Linked DNA regions of Homo sapiens: region 1 is linked to region 2. Evidence: promoter capture Hi-C in human tissues and cell types (Jung and others, 2019). All regions are on one chromosome and are shown on one strand. Each heading gives the region's core, a stretch centred on a gene start or on the middle of the fragment in contact. The rest is flanking DNA. Distances are from core to core; before and after follow the strand shown. Region 1 overlaps RAD51D (RAD51 paralog D). Region 2 holds the start of NLE1 (notchless homolog 1).

The links. Contacts are between HindIII fragments. The study calls those that stand out against the background at their distance.
Region 1: a fragment that was not itself captured here is called in contact with the fragment with the promoter of NLE1 in region 2 in 1 of the 25 tissues and cell types used here (ovary).

The regions. Positions count from the first base shown.
Region 1 is chr17:35,104,117-35,106,896 of GRCh38, forward strand. RAD51D (RAD51 paralog D) reads right to left here. Exons shown (of 10, transcript NM_002878.4): 6 at 2,270-2,365. RAD51L3-RFFL (RAD51L3-RFFL readthrough) reads right to left here. Exons shown (of 7, transcript NR_037714.1): 2 at 2,270-2,365. Among named protein-coding and RNA genes, the nearest start is that of RAD51D, 14 kb to the right of the region's middle. The HindIII fragment of the contact is 7,239 bases long and covers 1-2,780 here.
Region 2 is chr17:35,139,343-35,145,604 of GRCh38, forward strand. It overlaps NLE1 (notchless homolog 1), which reads right to left and starts at 2,961. Exons shown (of 13, transcript NM_018096.5): 1 at 2,916-2,961; 2 at 2,637-2,780; 3 at 507-724. The coding sequence starts at 2,933. RefSeq lists an enhancer at 2,392-3,269. The HindIII fragment of the contact is 6,679 bases long and covers 495-6,262 here.

The DNA of each region.
Region 1 (2,780 bases), core at 281-2,780, 37 kb before region 2:
TCATCAAATTTCAGAAAGCTCCGCAGAGAGTCCTGAGGCCTCTGGTCATGGATCTCTCAGCAGCCATCTCTCTCCTGTGTCCAGCCTCCCACCATGGTGGTAAGGCCCTTCTTTTCCTTTTCTGACTCCCTCCTTTCTTTCCCTTGTCCTGCTAACTACCACCCTCAAATTCCTAACTTCCTTTGCTGAAGAGTTTAGCCTTCTCTTTACTTCACTGTCTCCTTCTAGATCATGCCTCTAGGCCTCATCTTCCGTATCTAAAATGCCTCCAAATAAATTCCCTAAGTCTTGCTCTGTCACCCAGGCTGGAGTGCAGTGGCATGATCTCAGCTAACTGCAACCTCTGCCTCCTCGGTTCAAACGATTCTCATGCCTCAGCTTCCTAAGTAGCTGTGACTATGGGTGCACACATTGGGTGCACACTACGGGTGCTAATTTTTGTATTTTTAGCAGAGACGGGGTTTTACCGTGTTGGCCAGGCTGGTCTCGAAATCCGGCCTCAAGTGATCTGGCCACTTTGGCCTCCCAAAATGCCAGGATTACAGGCATGAGCCACCAAGCCTAGCCTGTGCCATCTTTCTAACCATAATTTTCTGTCTTTACACAAGCAGGAGAATCCTCCTGGTTTCCCTGGACTTAAACTGTTTTTGATGCTTCTTTTCTCTTCTCCCTTACTTCTTATATCCTGATTCTGGTTCTTTTTCTTTTCTTCTTTCTTTTTCTTTTTTTTTTTTTTAAGACAGGGTCTTGCTATGCTGCCCAGGCTGGTCCTGAACTCCTGGGCTCAAGTGATCCTCCTGCCTTGGCCTTCCAAAGCATTGGGATTTTAGGCGTGAGCCACCGCTCCTAGTCTCAGATTCTTAACCCCTAGAAACTGTGAGATAAGAAATACTATGTCTTAAGCCACTAAGGTTTTGGTAACTTATTATGCAATAATAGAAGATATATCATCTAATGGTCCTACAGTAAAAAATACAGTCTTCTGATCTGGAATTGAGAGGTTTGGGCTATAAGGTTAGTTCTTGCCCTAAATATTTGGTCAACTTTGGTCAACTCACTTCACTTCTCCGGCCTTCACTCTTCTCATCTCTAAAAGTGAGGTAAGCACTACTCAGCTTCATGTCTCAACAAGCTGGTGGGTCATAACCAGCTATGACTTCTGAGGTAAGTATTTGTTCAACATTTTTTTTTAAAGACGGGGTCTAGCTCTGCTGACCAGGCTAAGGTACAGTGGTATGATCATAGCTCACTGCAACCTCCAACTGCTAGGCTCAAGCAATCCTCCCGTCTCAGCCTCTGGAGTCATTAGGATTACAGGTGTGGGCCACCACTCCCAGCTTGTTCAACTATTATATGTTCTAAAGTTTGTAAAAATCATTGACTTTATATATAGTCGTGGGGATGCCCGTGTGAACACGTCATGCTTTGGGGTGAGAGGAAAAGTTTGAGATAAACTATTCTATCTTTAAGGTATCCTCCACATCTAGTCATTTATAAATCAGTGCACCAAATCCTGTCTAAGCACCCAACATGAGTAGCAAAGTGCCAACCCAAATGCCATTCTAAATCCTTCCCATTAACATGACTCTGAATGTGTTCAGCGACTGGGCAGAAATCTGACTTCAGGGATGGTGGGCCCAGGTCTTAGTCCAAGATACACACATAACCCCATTTTGGCCAACTAGATGTAAGGGGAAGAGGGACGTCTATTAGTGGGCTCTGGAGAAAGATTCTTCATCCCTGATAAAAGGGAGGAGGTACAGAAAAGAACCATCTATCTTTTACTGCCTTGAATATGGATGTGGATGTGTGAAGACAAGATGCTTGGAGCTTTGGCAGCCTCTTTGCAACCATGAGGGGAAGAACAAGAAAATCAGACACACAAATCTATTGCCCTGATAGCATGGACCTGCCAACCTCCCAACTCATGTGACATAATTAAATGTCCTCAAGCTTCAAGTCTCTGTCAGACAACCTCTATTACTTGCAGCTAAAAGTATTCCTCACTCACCTAGTGGGGAATGCAGACATAAATATGACATGATCCTTCCACTCAGGGGGCTTTACTGTTCAGCAGGGAAGATGAACATGTAAACAATGAGGTATGTGATTTAGGTGCTCGGGAATTCCATCCTGGGAGTAGCAAGCATAGTTGGAGTCACCAGATTGCACATCTGCATTTCCAAACAGTCTGTAGTAGGACACCTGCCCACAGAGATAGCACCTAGAAAGCTGAATTAAGCAAGGAGGGGCAGAACAGCAGGCTCACCTGCTGGGCCACAGTGCCTCGGAGCTCCTGCAGCACATCCAGCATCTGGAAGATGTCAAATGCATGCACCACCTGGATCCTCCGGAGAGCTTCTGCCTGAAGCGGTGGAAAAGAAAAGCAAGGACTTTGGATAAGAGGGAGTAGGGGGGTCAAGGTAAGGCTGAGAAGGAAGAGGCACCTGGATGCAAGGACTCAGGTCCAGGGTGGCAAATGAGCTTTGTCTAATGGTCAGTTGTCACAGTGGTGGCTGCCTGGGTGCTGAGCTGTAAAGTACTCAGAACTCAGCAGGAAAGAGGGATATGACTGATTAGTGATGTCTCTCACAGGTGAGAAATGGACTGGAAACACAAAGCTTGGTGTTTGCCAGCCCTGGTTTAGGGCATGCAAAGAGTTGGGAGGGTTTCCTGGAAGAATCAGTGTGAGTAGCATCCCAAATGGGATGATGGCATCAACAGGGGTGGCTTAAGGAATACGAGATGTATTAATAGAACAGCAAGTTTGAAGGCAAGGA
Region 2 (6,262 bases), core at 1,711-4,210:
TGCACATGTGCATTTGTGCCACCTATTCAATCACTTTCTGTGAATAGAATATGGAACTGGACTCTTTCCTCGCCCCTGGAAGGGAGAAAGACAATACTGATGCTGTCCTCTGGGAGAATACATCAGGAGGCCATTTCTTTCCTCTCCACAGCTATAACCAGCTTTTGAAGCTTCTCATTACCTTTCTAAGTTTGAGAGAAGCAACTAATCCCAGTTTCACAGATGAAAAATTAACTCGGAAAGGTTAAGTGATTTATACAAGTCACACAGCTCAGATCTTGAAAAATCAAGTCTAGGAGAGGTTTGTCCAAGGCAGGGGTCCTTAAGCAGCCTTTGGGGACCATGCCCTACTGAGGAAGTCCCTTAATTGCAAGCTGAGTCCAGAGCTTGGGTCTATGGTAGGCAGCCCTGAGGCCCCATCAATTATAACTCTGGGAGACCCTCCCCAAACCAGGCAAAGACTGCACCCCCACATACCCCCTCCATGAGTCTGCAGCTGTCCTTACTTTCCCGTAGGGCTGAAGGCCACAGAAATGACTGCCTCACTGTGACCCTCCAAGGAGCTGGTGCAGCGAGTCACAGCCCGGACTCTGAAGATAGCCTGTGGCTGGTAGATGATGTCTAGGACCTTCTCTGTCTCCACTGCCTGGGACTCCAACGTCTTCCCCAGTGAGGAGACGATCTCAGCATCGTGGACAAAGAAAGCCAGTGGCAGGGGATCCTCCTGAAGGACAATGGTAAAGGACAAACCCGCAACAATGGATGTGCAGGGGCACCCTCTGCCAGGGATGCTCCCCACTGAGCTGTGGGAGGTGAAGCTTCTTCTTTTCAGCCATCGTGCTAGGGATACCCCCATCATTGCCCATTGAGCAAGACCTTTTATTTATTTATTTATTTATTTTTGAGACAAGAGTCTCGCTCTGTCACCCAGGCTGGAGTGCAGTGGAGCAATCTCTGCTCACTGCAACCTCCGCGTCCTGGGTTCAAGAGATTCTCCTGCCTCAGCCTCCCGAGTAGCTGGGATTACAGGCACCCATCACCACGCCTGGCTAAGTTTTATATTTTTAGTAGATACGGGGTTTCGCCACATTGGCCAGGCTGGTCTCAAGCTCCTGACCTCAGGTGATCCACCTGCCTCGGCCTCCCAAAGTGCTGGGATTACAGGCGTGAGCCACTGTGCCCAGCCTAGCAAGACCTTTTAAGTCACTGAACAGCAGTTGCAGGACACTTACACAGCACTTGGAAATTCTTTTTTCTTTTTTTTTTGAGATGGAGTCTCGTTCTGTTACTCAGGCTGGAGTGCAGTGGTGAGATCTCAGCTCACTGCAACCTCTGCCTCCTGGGTTCAAGCAATTCTCCTGCTTCAGCCTCCCGAGGAGCTGGGACTACAGGCGCCTGCCACCACGCCTGGCTAATTTTTGTATTTTCAGTAGAGACTGTTTTCGCCATATTGGCTAAGCTGGTCTCGAACTCCTGACCTCTAGTGATCTGCCCACCTCAGCCTCCCAAAGTACTGGGATTACAGGCATAAGCCACTGCACCCGGCCTGAAATTCTTTATCTGCATCTCATAACAACCGTGGGAAGTAGATACTAATATTCCCACTGACAGTTTTCAAAAGCAGAGGCTCAGAACAACTAAGTAATTAGTTCAATGTCCTATTGCCAATGATTAATTCAGGTTCTTTACGTCCAAGATAGGATTAGCATATAGCATTATGCAGTGTTTCCCAAACTACCACACTACACTATATTTGTGTAAAAAGCTCCCAAAACGCCTGTTAAAAAATGTAGACTTTCTGCTTCATCCCAGAGTTTGGTTTAGTAAGGCTGGGATGGGGTCCAGGAACTGCAATTTTAAGGACCTCCCCTGTCCCCAGGGCAGCTCTTCAGTAAACACACTGGCTTAAAGGTTAAAAGCAAAGGCCGGGTGCGGTGGCTCACGCCAGTAATCCCCAGCACTTTGGAGGCCAAGGCGGGAGGATCACGAGGTCAAGAGATCGAGACCATCCTGGCCAACGTGGTGAAACCCAGTCCCCACTAAAAATACAAAAATTAGCTGGGTGTGGTGGCGCGCGCCTGTAGTCCCAGCTACTCGGGAGGCTGAGGCAGGAGAATCGCTTGAACCTGGGAGGCAGAGATTGCAGTGAGCAGAGATCACGCCACTACACTCCAGCTTGCCAGCCTGGCGACAAAGTGAGACTCCGTCTCAAAAAAAAAAAAAAAAAAGGTAAATAAATAAATAAATAAAAGCATGGGTATTCGGATAGTTTTGGGTTCCAATTCCAAATCTGCTACCTACTACATAGCATCGTGCAAAATACTGAGTCCCTCCGGGCCACGCTGTAAAATGGGGATATTAACGTGTCCCAGACTGGGGGACTGTGACAAAGAATCAATGAAATACAGCATCCGGTGCGTTCAAAGCTAGGCCCCTCTCCGCAGGTGGACCCCTTTGGTTGGCGTGTAAAGCGCTATGCCACTGATTCCATCTCTGACATAGGTGGGAGCTCACGCCAGGTGGGTCACCACAGTCCGTTAGCGGGGGACCATGAACCGCAGACCCTCGGTAATATGATTCCCCCACCGCATCCGCCCGGGGGTGGAGATGCGAGGCCGCCCTGGCCAGCCACTTACCTGGGCCAGTAGCGCGTTGCACACGAGCTGCAGCCTGTCCGGGGTGATGTCCACGGGCACGTCGAACGGGGAACCCAGCAGCTGCCCGCCCTCATCCTGGAACTGCACTAGCAACCGCTGCACATCGCGCGCCACCGCCTCGTCCTGCGCGAGCAAGTGGGGCGGGAGTCAGTCTGGTCGCCCGCCCAGAAGGGCCCCACTTCGCCTCTCTCAGGCCTCAGGGACCCGGGCCCTAGCGCCCCGCGGCGACGCCCCCCGCCCCCATCCACGCACACCCACCGGCACTGCTGCCGCCATCCTGCGTCCCCACGTGGAGGAGAAAGAGCCCGGCAGACAGAGCGCCGTCTCCGTGGTCGGGCGGGGTCGCCGCCGGCCACATCGCCCTCTGCTGTTGGGGAGGAGAAGCGTCCCGCTGCGCACGGCCTCAGGGATTAGAAATGGGCTTACCTGGTGCTCCTCCCGCCCCTCAACAGCCTTCACATTTATTTTTCGCCAGGGTCTTAGAGGACACAGTAAACTTTTGACTCTTCACAACAGGGATTCTTGCCCCATTTTAATTTAATTTCATTTTGAGACAGAGTTTCACTCCGTCGCCCAGACTGGAGGGCAGTGGTGCCACCACGGCTCACTGCAGTCTCGAACTTTCTGGCACAGCGATCCTCCCACCTCAGCCTCAGAGTAGCCTGGACTACAGGCACATGACACCCTGCCCGGTTATTTTTTTCTCATTTTTTGTAGAGACGAGGTCTCACTATGTTGCCCAGGCTGGTCTCAAACTCCTGAACTCAAGCAGCAAGTCCCCCACTCCCCAGCCTCAGTGTCCCAAAGTGCTGGGATTACAGGTGTGAGCCACCACGCCTAGCCTAGAAATTAGTATCCTTTTAAAAATGGATCAAGTCAAGGCTGGGCGTGGTGGCTGACACCTGTAATCCCAGCGCTTTGGAAGGCCCAGGCGAGCAGATCACTTGAGTCCAGGAGTTCGAGACCAGCCTGGCCAACATGGTGAAACCAGGTCTCTACTAAAAATACAAAAAAATTAACCAGCCGTGGTGGCATGCGCCTGTGGTCATAGCTACTGGAGAGGCTGAGGTGGTAGATTCTCTTGAACCTGGGAGGCAGAGGTTGCAGTGAGCCGAGCTCTCACCACTGCACTCCAGCCTGGATGACAGAGCAAGACTCTGTCTCAATAAATAAATAAATAAATAAATAAATAAATAAATAAATAAATAAATAAAATGGATCAACTCAATAATACTCGAGTACAAAAGCAAATCATTTCTACAATCATCAATGCTGTAAAGCAATAATAGTGATAATGACATCAACAAGTCAGGAATTGTTCTAAGTGCTTTCCCACATAACTCATTTAATTCTTACAACCCTTTTCTCCCCATATTACTGAGGAACTGAAGCAGACAGCAATGAACTTGAGCTCTTTTGCCTGAAACGAAGGATCTCCCTTGCCAACTCTCCTCTCTCTCCCTCCACTGCTCAGGCAGTCTCAAGCTCTGCCAAGTCATCCTCATGAACACAGCTTGAATCTGCTCTCCCCATCTCCACTGCCTCACTCTGGTCAGAGTCACCATCATCACCTGCCTGGACCGCTACAACAGCCTCCCGATGAGCCCCCCCATTTCCATTCCTGCCTCTTTCTACCCATTCTCCACGATGCAGCCAGGGTTATCTTTTCAGACCAAAAATCTGGCCTGCTGCTCTTCACCCTCAAACCCTGCGACGGCTCCCTTACATGCAGGAAAAAAAGAACACTCCTTATAATGGTCAATTCAGCCTTGCTATGTCCAGCCACCCCTCTCTTTAGGTTAAATCTTGCTGGCTTTTTCTGAGTTCTTACAAGGCATGGCTCTTCCTGCATCAGTGATTTTGCCCATGCAGTTTTTTCTGTCTGGAACTGTTATGGAGTGAATTGTGCCCTTCCCCTAATTCAAGCTTGTCCAACCCCTGGGCCACAGGCTGCATGCAGCCCAGGATGGCTTTGAATGCAGCCCAACACAAATTCGTAAGCTTTCTTAAAACATTATGAGATTTTCTTTCGATTTTTTTTTTCAGCTCATCAGCTATCATTAGTGTATTTTATGTGTAGCCCAAGGCAATTCTTTTTCCACTGTGGCCCAGAGAAGCCAAAAGATTGGACGCCTCTGCCCTAATTTATATATTGAAGCCCTAGCTCTGAATGTGGCTGTATTTGGAGATAGCATATATTATTATTATTGTTTTTTTTTTTTTTTTTTAGAGACAGGGTCTCACTCTGTTGCCCAGACTAGAGTGTAGTAGTGTGATCATAGCTCACACAGCTTCAAACTCCCAGGCTCAAGTGCTCTTCTTACCTTAGTGTTCTGAGTAGCTAGGACAACAGGTGTGTGCCACTATACCTGACACTCGGCTAACTTTTAAAAATTTTTGTAGAGACAAGGCTGTCACTCTGTTGCCTAAGCTGGTCTCGAACTCTTGGCCTCAAATGATCTTCCTGTCTTAGGCCTTCCAAAGTGCTGGGATTACAGGTGTAAGCCACCATGCCTGGCCTGGAGATGGGCCCTGAAAGGACATAGGAAGGGTTAATAAGTGAGTTTGTATGGGTAGGACACTAATCAGATAGAACTGGTGCCCTTGTGAAATGAGGAGACTCCAGAGTACTCTCTCTCTGTCTCTCCCCGCCCCCCGCACTGCCTCCCTGAGCACACACAAAGATGAGGCCATAGTAGGACACAGTGAGAAGGTGGCTGTTTGCATCCAGGAAGAGAGGCCTCACCAGAAACCAACCCTCATGGCACCTTGACCTTGGATTTCTCTACTCCAGAGCTGTGAGAAAATAAATTTCTGTTGTTGAAGCCTCCCTGTCTGTGCTATTTTGTTATGGTAGCCAGAGCCAACTAATACAGGAATAGTTCCTCATTCTTCAGGTCTTGCCTTGAATATTTATTCATTCATCCAATAAATGTATTGAGTGCCTACTCTCTGCCAGACGTTGTCGGAGTTCTATGTGTATCAACTCATTTATCACTTACGCAGGGAAACCTTTGAAATGATGTCATATGATGTCATATTTCCCTGTTGTATGTTTTCAAAACATCCTGGTATTCCTCACATTTAGAAATCACAGATCCAGCTGGCACAGTGGCTCACACCTGTAATCTCAGCACTTTGGGAGGCCGAGGTGGGAGTATCACTTGAGCCCAGGAGTTTGAGACCAGACTGGGCAACATGGTGAGATCATGTCTCTACAAAAAAAATAGCCAGGTGGCATGCACCTATAGTCCCAGCTACTCAGGAGGCTGAGATGGGTGAATTGCTTGAACCTGGGAGGTCAAGGCTGCAGTCAGCCGTGATCATGCCACTGCTTTCCACTTGTGACAGCGAGACCCTGTCTCAATTAAAAAAAAAACCAAAACAAACAAACGAACAAAAAAAAGAAATCACAGAATCACAGATCCATGGAATTATTTCATTCATTCATTCATTCAACAAATAGCATTGAGCACCTTCTTTTTATTTTTTCTTCTTTTTTGAGATGGAATCTTGCTCTGTCACCAAAGCTGGAGTGCAGTGGCATGATCTTGGCTCACTGCAACCTCTGCCTCTGGGGTTCAAGTGATTCTCCTGCCTCAGAC